Regions from separate parts of the Homo sapiens genome. Here regions 1, 2, 4 and 5 are each linked to region 3. The links are contacts of gene promoters, found by promoter capture Hi-C in blood cells and fetal thymus (Javierre and others, 2016). All regions are on one chromosome and are shown on one strand. Each heading gives the region's core, a stretch centred on a gene start or on the middle of the fragment in contact. The rest is flanking DNA. Distances are from core to core; before and after follow the strand shown.

What was found. The method cuts DNA at HindIII sites, captures the fragments that hold promoters and counts their contacts. A CHiCAGO score of 5 or more calls a contact.
Region 1: a contact is called between a fragment that was not itself captured here and the fragment with the promoter of UTP25 in region 3, in 1 of 17 cell types (total B cells). The highest score is 8.7, in total B cells.
Region 2: a contact is called between a fragment that was not itself captured here and the fragment with the promoter of UTP25 in region 3, in 5 of 17 cell types (activated CD4 T cells, total B cells, total CD4 T cells and 2 more). The highest score is 10.0, in activated CD4 T cells.
Region 4: a contact is called between a fragment that was not itself captured here and the fragment with the promoter of UTP25 in region 3, in 4 of 17 cell types (total CD8 T cells, naive B cells, non-activated CD4 T cells and 1 more). The highest score is 7.7, in total CD8 T cells.
Region 5: a fragment that was not itself captured here is called in contact with the fragment with the promoter of UTP25 in region 3 in 5 of 17 cell types (naive CD8 T cells, naive CD4 T cells, activated CD4 T cells and 2 more); the score reaches 7.8 in naive CD8 T cells.

What each region holds. Positions count from the first base shown.
Region 1 is chr1:211,340,815-211,343,514 of GRCh38, forward strand. The region is part of intron 1 of TRAF5 (TNF receptor associated factor 5); the gene reads left to right. Among named protein-coding and RNA genes, the nearest start is that of TRAF5, 15 kb to the left of the region's middle. The HindIII fragment of the contact is 1,214 bases long and covers 724-1,937 here.
Region 2 is chr1:211,316,594-211,319,293 of GRCh38, forward strand. No RefSeq gene overlaps it. Among named protein-coding and RNA genes, the nearest start is that of TRAF5, 8.9 kb to the right of the region's middle. The HindIII fragment of the contact is 3,259 bases long and covers 1-2,700 here.
Region 3 is chr1:209,826,628-209,829,327 of GRCh38, forward strand. UTP25 (UTP25 small subunit processome component) reads left to right here and starts at 1,345. Exons shown (of 12, transcript NM_014388.7): 1 at 1,345-1,543. The coding sequence starts at 1,437. RefSeq lists an enhancer at 1,385-1,434. The HindIII fragment of the contact is 3,327 bases long and covers 264-2,700 here.
Region 4 is chr1:211,289,771-211,292,470 of GRCh38, forward strand. All of the region lies in intron 8 of RCOR3 (REST corepressor 3), which reads left to right. Among named protein-coding and RNA genes, the nearest start is that of RCOR3, 32 kb to the left of the region's middle. The HindIII fragment of the contact is 2,888 bases long and covers 1-2,700 here.
Region 5 is chr1:211,266,749-211,269,448 of GRCh38, forward strand. All of the region lies in intron 2 of RCOR3 (REST corepressor 3), which reads left to right. Among named protein-coding and RNA genes, the nearest start is that of RCOR3, 8.7 kb to the left of the region's middle. The HindIII fragment of the contact is 5,534 bases long and covers 1-2,700 here.

The DNA.
Region 1 (2,700 bases), core at 81-2,580, 1.5 Mb after region 3:
AGTAGCGTGGGCTCCCAGAGCTGGCGGTCTTCGCAGCCTCCACAATCGCGATGGCCCTCTGGTGTCCCACCTTTATCTCTCAAACTGTCTTTTTCTCAGTCCTTTGACTCTGCTGGACTTTGTCACCCCCACGACCTGGTGCTGGGTCTGATCACCCCAACAGTGAGCCACCGCGCCTGGCCTCTTTGTACCTTCTTTGTAAGCAAGGAGGATGGTCAGGAAGGGGGAAGGGGGAGAGAAGTGTGAGTCTGAGATGACAGCCCCATAGCTCCATGCAGTGGGCACACCCACCCCCATTTGGGAATGTAGTTGAGGTGGCAGTAGGTAGCCTTTCCAATGAGGAGAAGCCTTTCCAATGAGGAGAAGTTCTTGAGCTGAGTCAAGAACAAAGGGCAGAAGGCTGACCTAGCTTTGGGGAACCCTGCAGGAGTGGAATGCTGACAAGGAGCCACCAAGAGGTGTGGTTCAGAGCTGGGAGGAGAACCAACAAACACAGAACCCTAGGGCCAAGGGATCAGGGAGTTTCAAGAAGGAAGTGCCAAATGTCACATAAAGGGCAGGAGGGCAGTGATTTAGGAGAGACTAGTCAGCAAATGTGATGATGTGATTACAGTTTAGATCATCAAACTAACATAATATGCTTTCCCAGGCTGTATATGGCCTCATATACCACATGCCCAGATGATTTGGGCCTGCCGACTTATTCCAGGTAGAGTACAGATAAGCTTGGGAGGGCCAGGGAGGCTTCAGAGAGGCACTGATGGGATCTGATAAAGGACACAGGTCTGTGGGTGCCACCTGGAAGGTGTGTTTCCATCGGGCATTGCTCTGGAGCTGGGAATGGGAAGGAGAGAGGGGAGAAAGAGGTTGATGGGGCATTGCCGGGCTGAGGATGGAGAATGGGCCAGAGCTCCAGGGGGTGGGGAATTTGGGCCCATGTGCTGCATTTTTGTTTCCTCATCAGTGTCTGCCTATGGTAGGTTCCCAGCAAAGAAATGATTTACAAAAAGTGACTGAATCAATAAATGTTTAGCGCGAGATAGTCCAGTGTAACCATGAATTCAAAATTGGGTGAAATGAGAAGGCAAATAGCATGTCAGGCAGTCAGGTTATCTCAGAGTGGGGGACATTGATGGAGAGACTCAGGGGCAAGTGCTTATTAATAATAGCCCTTATGACACCTCTGTGTACTACCACTATAAGTTCTTCATGCATAGAGGGGTCAGCAAACTTCTTCTGTAAAGAACCAGGTAGTAACTGTGTATTTGAGGCCTTGTGGGCCATATGGTCTGTGGGGCAACTGCTCAGCTCCTCTGTGGTAGCACATAAACAACCATAGACAATATGTAAATGAATGAACATGGCTGTGTTCTAATAAAACTTTATTTACAAAACATGTGATGGGCCAACCCCTGATGTATATAGTATTGACGTATTTAATCTTAAGAAGTTCTATGTGGTAACTACTGTTATTATCACCATTTTATTTTGTTTTTTGATATATTTTTCTTTTTTTTGAATTGTGATAAGTCCTACTTTTTTATTTTTATGGGTGTGTATTAGGTGTATATTGGCTACATGAGATATTTTGATATGGGCATACAATGCATAATAATCACATCAGGGTAAATGGGGTATCCATTATCTCAAGCATGTATCATTTCTTTGTGTTACAATCATCCCAATTCTTTTAGTTATTTTTAAATGTACAATAAATTATTGTTGACTATAGTCACCCTGTTATCAAATACTAGATTGTATTCTATACGATTATTCTGACTATATTTTTGTACTCATTAATCATCCCCACTTCCTCTACCCAACACTTCCCCCACCCCACAACTACCCTTCCCAGCCTCTAGTAACCATCCTTCTACTCTCTGTCTCCATAAGTTCAATTGTTTTAATTTTTAGCTCCCACAAACAAGAACATGTGAAGCTTGTCTTTCTGTGCCTGGCTTATTTCACTTAACATAATGTCCTCTAGTTCCATCTATGTTGTTGCAAGTGATAGGATCTTGTTCTTTTCTATGACTGAATATTGTGTATAGGTACCACATGTTCTGTATCCATTCATCTGTTGATAGATGCTTAGGTTGCTTCCAGATCTTGGTTCTTCAGTGTTGCAGTAAACATGAGAGGGCAGATGTGTCTTCAATATTCTGATTTCCTTTCTTTTGAATATATACCTAGCAGTGGGATTGCTGGATCATATGTAGTTCTGTGTTTAGTTTTCTGAGGAACCTCCATACCGTTCTTCATAGTGGCTGTACTAATTTACATTCCTACCAACAGTGTATGAGGGTTCCCTTTACTCCATGTCCTGTCCAGCATTTCATTATCATCGTTTTACAGATGAGGAAACGGAGAAACATAGCGACTAAGTAATTTGCCTGAGGTCACGTGGCTATGAAGGGGTATGGGCAGGATATGAATCCAGGCAAGTCTACTCCAGAGTTCATGCTGGTAATTGTCATGCCATGCTGACTCTTGGAACCTTGGAGGGGCAGGGAGGAACCCCAGCTCTTCATCCCCTGAGGGCCTCCACCACTACCTGGCAGTAGGAGCTCACTAGGCCTCCATTTCCTCATTTTAAAAAAAGGGGAATAATGATAATATATATATCATATCATATATCACCCTGTCTCCTACGCTGGAGTGCAGTTGTGCCATCATAGCTCACTGTAGCCTTGACCTCCT
Region 2 (2,700 bases), core at 120-2,619, 1.5 Mb after region 3:
TACACACCTAGGCTATATGGTATAGCCTTTGCTCCTAGGCAACAGTCCTATGCTGTACAGTAATATACTGTACTGAATATCATAGGCAGTTATAACACAGTGGTAATATCTGTGTATCTAAACATAGAAAAGGTATAGTAAAAATACAATATTTTATATATTTATTTTTTGAGACAGGTTCTCACTCTGTCGCACAGGCTGGAGTGCAGTGGCGGGATCTTGGCTCAGCAACCTTTGCCTCCCAGGCTCAAGCAGTTCTCCTGTCTCAGCCTCCTGAGTGTCTGGGATTACAGGCGCCCGCCACCACACCTGGCTAAGTTTTGTATTTTTTAGTAGAGATGGGGTTCCACCGTGTTGGTCGGGCTGATCTTGAAGTCCTGGTCTCAGGTGATCCACCTGTCTTGGCCTCCCAAAGTGCTGGGATTACAGGTATGAGCCACTGCTTCCTGCTGATGTTATAATTTTAAAGAACATCAGTGTATTTGCAGTCACTGACCGAAATATTGTGTGGTGCATGACTGTACTTGGGTTAAAGTACCTAGTTTAGTTATTAAGTATGTTGTATTAATTTTATGTTCCCTCCTGTTATCAAAAGGTTATTTATGAACATTAATAACTGCTAACTAGTTAACACTGGGGTGTCAGGATCTCCTCAAAAAGAATAGTAATCTGACTTCGAACTCTAAGAAGAATCTATCTTTCTCTTTGTGCATGCCCAAAATAAATGACAAATACATTCTTATTAGAGGACACACAAGAAAAAAAGTGTTTTTAAATTTAGCCATTCATTATAGATTACATCGTTTATAAGAAAATAACAGAATAAATGAATACGGAAAGAACCCAAGAATCAAGTTTGAGAAACCATTCCATATTAGAAAATGCCTACAAGAAACTTTTGACATCTGATTTATGGTAGTACCTGAACTGTTTTCACCTAGGAAAGAGTAGGTCATGTGTAACTCCCCACAACTTCTTTATCATAACTGCCTTAGGGAAGGAATGTTCTGCAGCAGTATATTAGTGACAATGGAGTTTGAGAATTAAACATGACAAGGAATGCTCCTAGATGTGTGAGTTTGTGTCTAAAGGGCCATGTGGCTTTATCTGCCCTTTTTTGCTCTCCTAAGTCTATATAGCTAAGGGAGAAACAGTGAAGATCAGAAGTTAATATTGGGTTGAGATGTTTGCCAATTGTCATTACTTGGTTTAAAGTAGACAATTGTTTATTAATAAACGGAACAGTCTTTACAATGCAGTAATCTAAACTTTAGAATCCTAAAGCAGGAATCTGGGTGAGCAGGGTCTCTAAGGAAAAAATGCTGGTGATGTGAAGTGGAGAGATCTAAGAACAGTCTTCACAATGTAAATGAGGTCAAAGTTGATGTCACAGAATGCTTCATATGTTTCCTTCCCTTGGACTATTTTAAGAAAGGTGAAATTTTTATTCTGTACAATTTAATCTTATTTGTAAGGTACAGTTACCAATAACTAAGAAGATGCTGAATAATACCACAACACAAGGTATCTCTTGAGGGATCTGTCTAGTTTACTACCTGGAACAGCTTTCTTATTTGACAGGATTTGGCTTGAAGAGGCCTTTAATCCAAAGACCATTTTGTTGATATCCTGCCTCTTCATCTTTTCCAAAAGAGTTTGAAAATAATCAGAATCATTGAGGGCTTGTGGCCTATATTTGCAAAATAATTGCCCACCAACCTTTAACACAATGAGTTTTCCAACTCCACTAAGCAAGTTACTTAATCTCTGTGAGCCTCATTTTCCTCATTTGGGGAGGAATATATAAACTGGGGCATATAGTACCTGCCCAATGTATGTTAGAGGTTTTTACATGTCTACTTATACCATACCCTTCTTAATAAGGGAAATGTATTGTGACTTTTTTTTTTTTTTTTGGACAGAGTCTCGTTCTGTCACCCAGGCTGGAGTGCAATGGCGCAATCTCAGCTCATTTTTTTAAAAAAATTAAAGTGCAGTGCAAAAATGAGAGATTAATTTCAGTTCAAGATGACAGACTGGACATAGTCTTTTACTTTTCTTACCCATAATCTCCCCCTGCCAGTCTTACTGAAATGACAAGAAATAGAAAAACCAAAATAACCCTTAGCAGTGCTAGGAAGCCAGAGGAGGAGCTACCAGCAGATGGGGATACATTTATGACAAAAGCCAGCAGAATTAAGGAACCTCTAATGTGACAAAGAGCTGAAGCCAGCCTTTTGCTAACAGCCAGCAAAGAACTCAGGCCTTCAGTTCAACAACCTGCCAGGAACTGAATCCTGCCAACATCCATGTGCACTTGAAAATGGATCCTTCCCCAGTTGGGTCTTGAGATGACCAGAACCCAGCTAACAGCTTGATTGCAGCCTATGACTTGAATAACACACCTTTACCTAGTTGAAATGTGGGATCATTCTACCCAACAGCAGAATAAACATTGTTTCCATGTGCACATGAAATATTGCTCAATATCAGCACTACTGACATTTTAGGTTAGATAATTCTTTTTTGTGCATTTAGAATGTTGAACAGCATCCTCAGCCTCTACCCACCAGATACCAGTAGAACCCCCTTCCCCAGTTTGAGAATCAAAAATGTCTCCAGACATGGTCAAATGTCCCATAAGGAGCAAAATCACCTCCAGTTGAGAATCATTGCAATATATCATATTAATAAAATAAA
Region 3 (2,700 bases), core at 95-2,594:
TTTCTATAGAACATGGTAGCATAAGTTACTATTAGGAAAAGGATCTCACCATCTTTATCCTGTGGTCTCAAGCAGCCCTGCACACTTGCAAATCCCTAGAATACTGAGTCTACTTTTATATTTTTGCTTTTTCCTGTTTATTTAGGTGTTATTTAAATACATTAAAATTCACCCATTTTAACTGTACAGTTTAACTTTTCTTATGTATACAAGGTGTAACTACTAGCATGATCAAAATGTAAGATGGTTCCTTTACCTTCAAAAGCTTTTCCATCCCCTTTTGTCCGAGTTCAGTTATGAGACACTGGATTGGGTTTCACAGCCTTTTCTAGCATTGACTGGGGTGATTTCAGTAAAGTCACTTTACCTCTCTAGATGTGTTTCTGCTGTTGTTAAATGGGGAATGCTGGAACAGATTTGTTTGCGGGGACTCTTCCAATACTTTCAGAAAATGCGAGAATAGGGTGAGGGTGGGAATCTCAGACTTGTGGGCCCCATGATTGATATAACACACACAGGCGGCAGACCCTAATGGGTAAAAGCATGTGGTTGCATCAGTTAAGGTTTTTCTCTCTTCTCTTGCTAGCGTGTTATCTTTTCTTTTCTTTTCTTCTTTTTTTTTTTTTTCGAGATGGAGTCTAGCTTTTGTCGCCCAGGCTGGAGTAGGCTGGAGTGCAGTGGAGTGATCTCGGCTCATTGCAACCTCCACCTCCCGGGTTCCAGCGATTCTCCTGCCTCACCTCCTGAGTAGCTGGGATTACAGGCGCCCGCTACCACGCCCGGCTGATTTTTGTACTTTTAGTAGAGACGGGGTTTCACCATGTTTGGCCATGCTGGTCTCGAACTCCTGACCTCAGGTGATCCGCCCATCTCGGCCTCCCAAAGTGTTGAGATTACAGGCGTGAGCCACCGCGCCCGGCCGCTAGCGTGTTATCTTTTCTAAGCATCAGTTTCCTTATCTGCAACACCAGGCTTATTAACAAGACCTATCTGTACACTGTTGTGGTGATGAAGTGAGATGTTCAGGCACCCTTAAATGTTGGTTGATATTTTTATTGCAGTATACTGTAAAGTCACTGCATTCGACTATCTCCGCTACTACACATTTACGCAGACTGATTTCCATAACCAAAACACAAGCACAAAGCTCATGCCCCCGACTCACGCAACCCGGGAAGCCCAGCTGCCCACGTTCTAGGGCTCTGAGAACACTAGTGAACGAACTCCCGTGCTTTCAAAGAGCTGCGGTAGGGGGCAGAACCGGGAACCGGATGTTCTAAGCCTGTCGTACGAGCGCGACGTAAAGCGGATCTGCTTTATGGCACCTTGCTTTCGCCGTAAAGCGCAGTCAGCGAGCCCACGTGCTTGTGTTGACTGGACAACTTCCTGGTGGAAAACCGCGACTCTTGCAAGTGGGCAAACTTGACGTTTTCGCTATGGGCAAACGCGGGAGCCGGAGCCAGAGCCAGCTACTCAACACCCTAACTAAAAAGCAGAAGAAACATCTTCGAGATTTCGGCGAGGAGCATCCCTTCTATGACAGGTCTGAAGGGGCGTGGCAGGGCTCCCCAGTCGCCAGAGATGTATCCTCGAGTTTGGTCCTCTGGTCTCCCAGATAGTGCTGCTCCGGCCTTTTCCCACTATTCCCTGGCTCCCGCTGTGCTCGGCCGGGGAGATTCTGGCGCCATCCCGCCGGGAGATGGAGTGCTTCACGGGCCTTTTTGTTGAGCCTGTAATTTCCTGCTAAGAGGCACGCCCGTTGTGTGGGGGAGGATTTTTTTTTTTTTTTTAAGACGGTGTTTCGCTCTGTCGCCCAGGCTGGAGTGCAATGGCGCGATCTTGGCTCACTGCAACCTCTGTCTCCTCCCGGGTTCAAGCGATGCTCCTGCCTCAGCCTCCCGTGTAGCTGGGATTACAGGCGCCCGCCACCAAGCCCGGCTGATTTTTTGTATTTTTAGTAGAGATGGGGTTTCACCATGTTGGCCAGGCTGGTCTTGAACTCCTGACCTCAGGTGATCCACCCACCTCGGCCTCCCAAAGTGCTGGGATTACAGGCGTGAGCCACCGCGCCCAGCTATGGGGGCGGATTTTTGTGTGGTCAGAGATCTAGGAATTTTTTGTAGACACACATATATATATGTATATATATAATTTTTTTTTTTTAAGACAGAGTCTCGCTTTGTCGCCCAGGCTGGAGTGCAGTGGCGCGATCTCAGCTCACTGCAACCTCCGTCTCCCGGGCTTAAGCGATTCTCCTGCCTCAGCTTCCCGTGTAGCTGGGATTACAGGCGCCCGCCATCACACCCGATCAATTTTTTGTATTTTTAGTTGAGACGGGGTTTCACCATGTTAGCTAGGGTGGTCTCGAACTACTGACCTCGGGTGATCTGCCCGCCTTGGCCTCCCAAAGTGCTGGAATTACAGGCGTGAACCACCGCGCTTGGCCTGTTTTTATAATTATTTTTAACTTACATAAAATGATTGTACATATTTGTGGGATACAGTGTGATATTTTGATAACAATACATGTACCCAATGTGTAATGATCAAATCCGGGTAATTAGCATATTCATCATCTCAAACATCAATTCTTTGCGTTGGGAACATTGAAAATCCGCTCTTCTAGCCATTTGAAAATATACAATAAATTGTTAGTTATAGTCACATCATATGTTGTGTGTGTTTTTAAAGAATTTGTTG
Region 4 (2,700 bases), core at 57-2,556, 1.5 Mb after region 3:
TGTCTTCATCATCATCATCATCATTATCAGTAGTAGTACTAGTAGTATTGTAAGGGCAGCATCATCATAATCAGATAGTAGTTAAAAATCAGCATCTAGAGTCAGTGAACCTGTTAAGTTCTAACCCTGGCTATACCATCTCTTCCTGTGTAACCTTAGAGGAGCTCTTTAACTTCTTTCAGCCTCAGTTTTCTCATCTGGAAATGTGGATAATAGTATAGTGGTTGAGAGGAATTAAACAAGATAATATATGGTAAGTGCTTAAAACAGTGCCTGGCGCATATTAAGCTCAGTTATTCGTTGCTATTAGATCTCTGGCCTTTCTTAGTTGTCTTTTCCTATTTTTTGTCTGTTTTGTTATTTTTTTCTTATCCCTTAAATCTAGATATTCTTCTAAATCTGTACTTTCTTGGTCTATATCAACCAACCCTATACCTATGCCAGTGACTTCTGAATCTTATTTCTCAAGCTGTGGCTTTTCTCAAGCTCCTTAGCTATAGTTCCAGCTGCCTGCTAGGTCTTCCCCAAAAGATTTTTTTCTCTGTTTCCTGTCTGTTGAAACATCAGAATCATCTTTTATTCATCCCCTGCTGTTATCCCTTTCCCAACACATGTAAACCAAAGTGGTAACCAAGTTATGTGAGTTTTGTCTCTGAAATTTCCTTTAAATCAATTCCCTCTTTTTTATCTCATCACTACTGCCCATTTAGGCTCTTGCTATCGCTTGCCTGACAATAACTATCTTGTGGATTCTTTTTTTCTCCTCATTTTTTTTATTTTAATTTTTTGTAGAGAAACGTTCTTGCTATGTTACCCAGGCTTGTCTCAAACTCCTGGGCTCAAGCAATCTTCCTGCCTGCCCCTCAAAGTGCTGGGATTATAGGCATGAGCCACCACGCTCGGCCTCTTGTTGATTCTTTCTATTACTTCTCTTTAGCTGGAGGTTACACATTGTTGCCAGTGTTATCTTTTTAAAGCACTGGTCTGATCACTGTCACTCATCTTAAAGCTCTTTGTTAGTTTCTACTTGCCTTTAGCAGGTTACAGTAGAGGTAGACAGGGATTTATAAGAAAATCATGTTAAGAAATTTGAAATTCATCCTGAGTTAGGAAACTGCTGAAGGACTTTAAGGAAAGGTGGACCATGGTCATATTTACATTTTCCAGCTATATCTTTTGCATTTTCTTGTTTGTTTGTTTGGTTTTTTTTTTGCTTTTATAGTTGCTTTAGTGATTACAATATTCATCCTTAGCTTATCACTGCATATTTAGTTAATATTACAGTAGTCCTCCCTTAATCCGTAGTTTCACTTTCCATGGTTTCAGTTACTTGCAGTACAGTACAATAAGATATTTTGAGAAACAGACTATATTCACATAGCTTTTATTACAGTATATTGTTATAATTTTTCTATTTTTAATTAGCTATTGTTATTCTCTATTGTGCCTAATTTATAAACTAAACTTTATCACAGGTATGTATATATAGGGAAAAACAGTACAGGTTGAGCATCCCTAATCTGAAAATCTGAAATGCTCCAAAATTTGAAACTTTTTGAGCACTGACATAATGCTCAAAGGAAATGGTCATTGGAGCATTTTGGATTTTGGGTTTTCGGATTAGGGATGTACAACTGGTATATATTATGCAAATATCCCAAAATCCCCTGAAATTTGAAACACTTCTGGTTCCAAGCATTTTGGATAAGGGAATACTCAACCTGGATATGTTTTGATTTGGTACTATCCACAGTTTCAGGCATCCACTGGGAGTTTTGGACTGTATCCCCTGCGGATATGGGAGGACTACTATATTCTGCTTACAAAATGTAAGAACCTTGCAACAGTATAGTGTGGGATCAAGATTCTCTATCTTAAACATGTTCAGATTTTTCTATTCCTTGGTCCTGGTTATTCACCCAAACTGCTTTTCTGGTTCTCTAACATAGGCCACATTTGCTTCCTCTGCTTTCTTACCAAAACTTATTCTCCAACCCTTTCTAATCTAGCTTCTGCCCCGTATGGTATTCCAGTTCTACTGAAACACCTCTCCGAAGATCATTTATGGGCTGACATGGTGGCTCATGCCTGTAATCCCAACACTTTGGGAGGCCAAGACAGGAACATCACTTGAGGCCAGGAGTTTGACACCAGCCTGAGCAACATAGTGAGACTTCATCTCTATAAAAAAAATTTTAAAAATAGCCAAACGTGGTTGTGTGTATCTGTAGTGTAGTCCTAGCAACACAAGAGAGTCTGAGGAGAGAGGATCGCCTGAGCCTAGGAGTTCAAGGTTTACAGTAGAAAAAAAAAATCACTTATGAACAAGTGGCCAACATCTAATGCTGCCTTCCTGGTTTTTAGCTCCTTTGACTACTCAGTAATGTTTGACACTGTCAGCCATGTCTTTCTTTTTGGAATTTCTTTCACTTGACTTTGTGACTCTCTGGAGTATGTGTGTTTATAGTACATATTTAGAAGGCAGCTATCCTCACCACTATACCACCAACGCATCTCATATTTGGTTAAATGCTTAGCCTTTAGTCAAACTATGAATGCAAGATGCCTAACTTCCAAACCACAGCAATCCTCTTTAGAAAACTTCTAAATCATTTGCTGTAATACTTTAAATGCACTAAAAACATAAAGGAATAAAGTGTACTCAGTCACCTGTATTCATACTTCATTCTCAGTACTACT
Region 5 (2,700 bases), core at 86-2,585, 1.4 Mb after region 3:
GTTTTAGTTCATTCTGACTTTTACAATGAAAAAGGTAAAACTTATTGGACACAAAGTGTCCCAAGAGGTAGATAAGTTATTTTTAATAGCACATGTTACTTTCTCCTGTTTTATAGGAAAGGAATCACGTCTGAATTGTGAGAAAAACATAATGGGTCATTTACAGCTATTCAATTTCATTTTCAAGGGGTTGGTGAGAGAGGACATCAGCCGTTTTTGAGATACAGCCCCTTGAGGATTTATTCATTTATTTTGTAGTTGATAAGGTGAGAAGAAGCCTTTTTAGGATAAAGAAGGAAGGAACTTAAGAAAGAACTGTCTTCAATAAGCATATACTAGTAATAATTAAGTCTTAGGTAATGCTTACCATATGCCACGTACTTACATTAATTCATTTAATTTTTGAGCAACTCTGTCAGGTAGGTACTTTCATCATCCATATTTTTAGAGAGAAGGAAAACTGAGGCACAGACAGATTAAATAGATTTATCCAAGGTGACACAGCTACCAAGTAGCAGAGCTGGTATTCAGACTCTGGGAGTTGGGCTTCGTAGTTCATATTCTTAACCATTGCACTGAAATATCCCTTACTTCCTGTATCAGTCATCTCTTGGGCCTAGTTGACACATATATAATTGAAAATAGTAGAGTCCAGTTCAGAGTTAGGGAAGGAAAATTGCGAAATGCTTAATTAGGCATTCTCTGCTATCAGGATTGCTCTATGTATGCTGCTCCTCTATCTACCTGCTCACCGATATTGGAAGAGCTGTTAGTTCCCACAACTTGGATACCAGTTTCTGTCAGATGGGGCCCTTAATTACAATGCTAATAATGTTTTTGAAACTTATTTATTTATTTATTGAGACAGGGTCTTGCTCTGTTGCCCAGGCTGGAGTGCAGTAGTGTGGTCATGGCTCACTGCAGCCTTGAACTCCTGGGCTCAGGCGATCCTCCCACCTCAGCCTCTTGAGTAGTTGGGACTACAGGTGCACACGATCACATCCAGCTAATTTTTTGTGTTTTTAGTAGAGACAAGGTCTTGCTATGTTTCCCAGGCTGGTCTCAAACTCCGGGGCTCAAGCCATCCGCCCTCCTTGGCCTCCCAAAGTGCTGGGATTATAGGTAAGAGCCACTGCACCCAGCCTGTAGCTGTTACCTTTTATGGGGAAAAATTTAAAAAAAGTTTAATATCTCTTTGAGAAGGGACATTTAATGAAGATATTTTAATTCAGACTTTCTGTAAGGCAAGAATGAGATGCAGGGAAATTATGTTTAAATATTTAGCATGATATGCCGTTAAGACTTGGGACTTAATGGAAAACTTTCTTTGTTGCATTTCGTGTTCTATTAAGTAGGATTTAAATGATCTTATTGTCATGACCATTGTGCAGAATAATCAGTTCCATGTTAAAGGATTGAAGTTTAGGATATTCACTTTATATAACATTAGATTTTATGAATTAAGTAAAGGCTTCTGACCAACTTAAATAGGATTTTTGTTTTATTACCATTGAGTGGGTTGGCTATTTTGTGTTTATATTTTTATTTTACAGGGTTAAAACTTAAATATGTATCTTAATATTGAAGTTTTAAAAAGATATATCAAAGTTTCTTTTCTTTCTTTTTTTTTTTTTTTTTTTTTTTTTTTGAGATGGAGTTTCGCTCTTGTTGCCCAGGCTGGAGTGCAATGGTGTGATCTCGGCTCACCGCAACCTCCGCCTCCCAGGTTCAAGTGATTATCCTGCCTCAGCCTCTTGAGTAGCTGGGATTACAGGCATGCGCCACCACACCCGGCTAATTGTATTTTTAATAGAGATGAGGTTTCTCCATGTTGGTCATGCTGGTCTCGAACTCCCGACCTCAGGTGATCCGTCCACCTCGGCCTCTCAAAGTGCTGGGATTATAGACTTGAGCCACAGGGCCTGGCCAGTTTATTTTCATTGAATATAAATTTTTTCATAATGAACCTTAATTTGGCATTTTCCTAAATTCTCAGCTCATGCTTTTGTGTCCTTTTTTATTAAAGATATGACAAAATACAAAAGGCTTTCGAATACTTTGGTAGTGTTTCTTCTTTCAGTTCTCTTTTCTTCTTAATTTTCCTTATAACATACATAGAATTTTAAGATAAATTTATATTTTATAGCAATGTATGATTTTTTAACTAAAATTTGTTGATCAGTAATGATATATGATGCTTCTCTAAAAATAAAAATATTTAATGATATTATATTATTGCCTGATAGATAACTTCTCTAGCTGGAGATTATAGTAGTAGTTCTCTGACCCCTAGAAATGAATGTTCTTCATTCCAAGTATCTTATAACTTTATAAAGGATTACAGTTTAACCTCGGAATTATTTTAATATGTCAGTAATTTTGGAATTCTGGCTATTAATGGTAATTATCGGTACCACATAAAAGTCATTTATGAGCCGGGTGCAGTGGCTAACACCTGTCATCCCAGCACTTTGGGAGGCTGAGGCGGGTGGATCATCTGAGGTTGGGAGTTCGAGACTAGCCTGACCAACATGGAGAAACCTTGTCTCTACTAAAAATACAAAGTTAGCCAAGCATGGTGGCGTGTTCCTGTAATCCCAGCACTTTGGGAGGCTGAGGCAGGCGGATCACGAGGTCAGGAGTTCAAGACCAGCCTGGCCAACATGATGAAACCCTGTCTCTACTAAAAATAACAAAAAT